Regions from separate parts of the Homo sapiens genome. Here region 1 is linked to region 2. The links are contacts of gene promoters, found by promoter capture Hi-C in human tissues and cell types (Jung and others, 2019). All regions are on one chromosome and are shown on one strand. The core of a region is centred on a gene start or on the middle of the fragment in contact, and the rest is flanking DNA. Distances in the headings are between cores, read along the strand shown. Region 1 has its middle 3.8 kb from the start of TOP2A. Region 2 holds the start of PSMD3 (proteasome 26S subunit, non-ATPase 3).

Evidence for each region. The method cuts DNA at HindIII sites, captures the fragments that hold promoters and counts their contacts. A contact is called where the count stands out against the background at its distance.
Region 1: a fragment that was not itself captured here is called in contact with the fragment with the promoter of PSMD3 in region 2 in 1 of the 25 tissues and cell types used here (dorsolateral prefrontal cortex).

The regions. Positions count from the first base shown.
Region 1 is chr17:40,420,267-40,423,042 of GRCh38, forward strand. No RefSeq gene overlaps it. Among named protein-coding and RNA genes, the nearest start is that of TOP2A, 3.8 kb to the left of the region's middle. The HindIII fragment of the contact is 5,785 bases long and covers 1-2,776 here.
Region 2 is chr17:39,979,436-39,982,135 of GRCh38, forward strand. PSMD3 (proteasome 26S subunit, non-ATPase 3) reads left to right here and starts at 1,372. Exons shown (of 12, transcript NM_002809.4): 1 at 1,372-1,755. The coding sequence starts at 1,536. RefSeq lists enhancers at 1-381, 803-982, 1,203-1,482, 1,283-2,260 and a silencer at 1,663-1,712. The HindIII fragment of the contact is 7,545 bases long and covers 1-2,700 here.

The DNA.
Region 1 (2,776 bases), core at 20-2,519, 440 kb after region 2:
CATGCTTCCCCAAGGATGGCAGCTCAGTTTCTGCAGCTCCCGGCCTCTACCCTGTAGCTCATCCCAGCCTGCAGTGACCCACTGGGCAATGAGGCAACAGGAATTTAACAAGCAGCTCCAGCCCTATTTTTTAGGGGCCCAGCTTTAAATCTGTCCTGCAGTTTAGCTGGATCCTGTGTGTCTTTGTTCCAAAAACCCAGAAGAAGTACTGTGGAGTCAAAAGGACTTTGGGGACCGGGTGTGGTGGCTCACGCCTGTAATCCCAGCACTTTGGGAGGCTGAGGTGGGTGGATCACCTGAGTTCAGGGGTTTGAGACCAGCCTGGACAACTTGGTGAAACCCCATCTCTACAAAAATACAAAAAAAAAAATTAGCCATGCCTGATGGCGGGTGCCTGTAATCCCAGCTGCTCGGGAGGCTGAGGTGGGAGAATAGCTTGAATCCAGGAGGCGGAGGTTGCAGTGAGCCGAGATCGTGCCATTGCACTCCAGCCTGGGCGACAGAGCAAGACCCCGTCTCAAAAAAACAAACAACAACAACAACAAAAAACACAAAAGGACTTTGGGGCCACACACACCTAAGTTAGAATTCTTCCTGGGTCTCTTGGTTTCCCCATGCCATTATCCTTTATCAAAGACACAGAGGGCAAAATGAGATATGCAAGTGTCGGGGACAATCCTTTTCCAGCTCTGTAGCACAAGGTGGTCTTGCTCTGGCCCACCCCCCTTCTCTTCTGGGTACAAGCTATTTCTCTGCCAGTCCCTCCCTCTTCCCAGAGCCTATTGCAGGGGGTCCTGCAGGACTTGTGGGGACTATTGAAGAAAGAATAGTGGTGGGGGTCTGGGATGGGTGGGCCTGGAAGGCATTGCACACAAAGAGGGAACTGCAGGGCCGGGCACGGTGGCTCACGCCTGTAATCCCAGCACTTTGGGAGGCCGAGGCGGGTGGATCACGAGGTCAGGAGATCGAGACCACCCTGGCTAACAAGGTGAAACCCCGTCTCTACTAAAAATACAAAAAATTAGCCGGGCGCGGTGGCAGGCGCCTGTAGTCCCAGCTACTCGGGAGGCTGAGGCAGGAGAATGGCGTGAACCCGGGAAGCAGAGCTTGCAGTGAGCCGAGATTGCGCCACTGCAGTCCGCAGTCCGGCCTGGGCGACAGAGCGAGACTCCGTCTCAAAAAAAAAAAAAAAAAAAAAAAAAAGAGGGAACTGCAGGTGCCTGCCAGTCCTGGGAGGCAAGAAGGGGTTGGGGGTAGTTCCAGGGGGCTGTGGTGGGGGGAGGGGAAAGATACCATCCTCATTATCCACCCACCCTGCCCCCACTCTGCAGGGGCCCAAAGTAGCTACCTGGACATTACCCCCTCCCTCCCCCAACCTGTACTTGAATATGTGGTTGAGTACTTAAGGCAGATCCCTGACTAGGGTATTTGCTGGGTATATGACTTTGGGCAAGTCACTCAGTCTCCCTTACAAGTTCAGTTGTAGATCAAATTGACTTTTATTTGTGATTCATGAATTGGGGCAGCCCCCATTCTACAAAATAGAATGAAAGCTTCCATTGGGCAATAGCAGAATGGTGGGTTTTGTAAGGTGGGAACCAGGAAACAGCAATAGGAAAAAACCTGATTGGTTAACATCAGGTACTTCAGGTTACTTTTTTGTGGAGTTAAAGCAGAGGGGACTTCCTTATTAAACTGACTTAGGTAGATTGGACTCTCCTGTTTTCAGGAAAAAGTGGTCTGTTTTGGAATCTATCTGCTTCTTTAAAGTTTCAGTTGGATTACATGGCATTTAGCACGAATTACTCCATCTTGGTTTGGTCTAGTCTTTTGGGGCCTAGTGTAGGAGCTCAGTTGAAAACAATGGCCTCCATAATTTTTTTTTTTAGACGGAGTCTCACTCTATTGCCCAGGCTGGAGTGCAGGGGTGCGATCTCGGCTCACTGCAACCTCGGTCTCCCGAGCTCAAGCAATTCTCCTGCTTCAGCCTCTGCAGCAGCTGAGATTACTGGCGTGCACCACCACACCCAGCTAATTTTTGTAGAGGCGGGTTTCGCCATGTTGGCCAGGCTGGTCTTGAACTCCTGACCTCAAGTGATCTGCCTGCCTTGGCCTCCCAAAGCACTGAGATTACAGGAGTGAGCCCCCGCTCCCAGCCAACCTCCCATAATTTTTTTTTTTTTTTTTTGAGACGGAGTCTCGCTCTTTCGCCCAGGCTGGAGTGCAGTGGTGTGATCTTGGCTCACTGCAACCTCCACCTCCCAGGTTCAAGCAATTCTCCTGCCTCAGCCTGCTGAGTAGCTGGGATTACAGGTGTCCACCACCACGCCCAGCTAATTTTTGTATTTTTAGTAGAGATGGGGTTTCACCATGTTGGTCAGGCTATTCTCGAACCCCTGACCTCGTGATCCACCCGCCTCGGCCTCCCAAAGTGCTGGGATTATAGGCGTGAGCCACGGCGCCCGGCCTATAATTTTTAACAATCTAAAATGGGGATAATGGGAGTACCTCCTCCTGCTCTTCATAGGGTGAGCTATCCTCATTATCCACCCACCCTGCCCCACTCTGCAAAATTCTTACACCAAATTCTTAGTGCATTGTCTGGCAAGTAATAAGTGCTCAAGACATGTTAACAATGACTACCTCTGCTCCTTTCCAGGATCTTCCTTCCCTGCTAGTCCCACCAATTCCTTCTCCAAAACCAGCTCAAAATTCTCCTACCCAGGGAGCCTTCTCTGACAGTCTTTTTCATTGAACCTCCTCAAGTCTTTTGAGG
Region 2 (2,700 bases), core at 122-2,621:
TCAAAAGTCCTGTTATCCACCCCCCAGCCCTGGAGGGTGAGAGGACAGTTGAGGAGGAACTGGTCAAGGCATGTTCCCTAAAACTAGAGCACATATCTTTCCAGTTAGCGAGTGGCTGTTTAACGCAAGGAACATCCTGCAATCCTATGAAAGAGGATGCAAAAGATATGCAGGATACCCTTTATATATGCAAAGGAGGAGGTCAAAACATATTTCCTGCCTTCTAGGTCCTTACAACAGGGCTAGATTGTCTTGTAGGGTCCGTGAAAGGTCTAAAACTCAGGACTTCCACTTATGGGAGAGAGAAAAGTTTCAAGGTAGGGAGAGAGTTTTTGTTGTGTGTTCTAAGAAATTGGGAGCTATATCCTTCACCTTGTTTCACCTTCCCTGCAGAACCAGTGGGGCAGTCCTTTGAAAAATAAGTGGGTAGGGTTTCTTGTCCAATTTGCTTCCCCTTAGGTACACCACTAAGTAAACCATCATTCTCTCCTTAGGCACACCATTATTCTGTTCCCCATTTCACAATGTCTGTCTGGATGTATAAAAGCCCTCTCAATGGGCTCCCTAAAGCGTCTGCCAGTAGGGGCTCCCACCCTCTTTCCTCAACACTCCCAATCCACCGCAGCCCAGAGCACAGTGTCTGCTTATCTAACCATCTGACTCCCCCGTATACTACATTCTTGAGCTGTTTTTCACCCCCCTATTTGCTAACCGTGGGCCGTACATAGGGTGGACCCCTATATTTTGTTAAACTGGAGTGATTCTACGCAAATGCACGCTCCTACCTATCGGCACTCCCAGCCTGCAGAAATTGTATGCCTTATGTTCAGCACTAAACTCAAATCTAACCAAGGAAGTCCGGATCCCATAGGGTTCTTCCTACTCTCCAGTTCGGTTTATTTTAAGGCCAACAGCCCTAGCTTCACGTCCCTCCTTCACAGCCTTCTTTCCTTCCCTCCTGCCGGATGCGCCCGGCAGCCGTTGAGCACAAGCCCAGCGGATCTGGAAGGAGACCCCGCCGCGACCGGGGAAAATTGAGCGAACTTGGGCGCAAAACCCGCCCGGCAACTCGTGACGTCATCTCGTCCCGCGCTCGGATAGGCTGTACCCACTCCACGCTGGTTGAGGCGCTCTTAAAGTCCTTTGTAACCCAGATTGGAGCCTGAGGGGACCTCTCGTGGACGCCCACAGAAATGCACTCGAGAGGAACATAAAAGCATCACACTTAAGCGCTCGAAAGAAAGCCCCACGAACCCATAAAGGCTCCTCCCCGCTCCTTCCTCGAAGCTCCTCCTTCATCCTGCACCTCGGCTGTGGATTTATTTCCCCTTTGTTGACTCGGCCATCGGCCTGCCGGGCCTGGCGTTTCCCAGAAGGCCCAGCGCCGGGAAGGGGTTTGCAGCTGCTCCGTCATCGTGCGGCCCGACGCTATCTCGCGCTCGTGTGCAGGCCCGGCTCGGCTCCTGGTCCCCGGTGCGAGGGTTAACGCGAGGCCCCGGCCTCGGTCCCCGGACTAGGCCGTGACCCCGGGTGCCATGAAGCAGGAGGGCTCGGCGCGGCGCCGCGGCGCGGACAAGGCGAAACCGCCGCCCGGCGGAGGAGAACAAGAACCCCCACCGCCGCCGGCCCCCCAGGATGTGGAGATGAAAGAGGAGGCAGCGACGGGTGGCGGGTCGACGGGGGAGGCAGACGGCAAGACGGCGGCGGCAGCGGCTGAGCACTCCCAGCGAGAGCTGGACACAGTCACCTTGGAGGGTACGGCAGCCCAGGCCGGGAACGTGCCGCGATCGCGGGTGACAGCGACCCCTGTGATTTGGCTTCTTGCTGGGAAGCCACAGCAGCCTCCACCACCCTCAGTTCTTTGGGATCACCCCCAGATACCTGCTCCCACTGCCCCGACACTCCCGACTCCAGGCCCAATGACTGAACCTTCTCTCCAGGCTGGGAACCACTCCCCTCCCATCCCCTCCATCCCCATATCTGGGGTTGCATCTATATCTAGGTCCCAGTGGGCCTGGGGACTCCCTCTTTTAAGTCCTCCCCTCTGACCTATTCCGTTTATATCCCACCCGACTGATTTTAGCGCCTCCAATATATGACTGATTGTTCCCGCTGGAAACCAGTGTTTGTGTCTGTGTGTAAACAGGGCCAGGATGACCTAGAATATTGACTCCTGAGTTTTAAAACTGTACAGCAGATTTTTGTTGTCCTAGCTGCCTTTAGCACACTCCCCCGAATGAACCATTTCGACCTAGTATCTTGTTTCCTACTTCTCTAACTGAAGTGTCCCAACAGTCCCCTTGCTGTCTCCTCCCTTCAGGTCCTTACTGCCCCTCTGTTTCTAAAGGGTTTAAGTACATACACACTTAAAACTTTTCGGGTGTCATCTTTGTTTGGTTTTGTAATACTCAACCTTTGGCCTAAACTCCTATATACCGGTGTCTCCTATTTCTTTTCTCCGAGGTTCCTGTTTCGAGTGTCTGTAGTCCTCTTGTTCCTCCAAGTTCATGTTTTACTTTTCCCACTTACAGCGTCCTGTTTCCATTTGAAGTGGGCAAAGTGAGAGCTTCCCACTGTGATCCTGGTGCCATTTTCCTGGTTCTGGATCAAGTGGGACCAGACTACTTACTAGGTTTTCTTTTCACTAAAATGCGTGAGAAACTAGCTCAAAAACATTGAGATAAGCAAAGTTATCCTCCT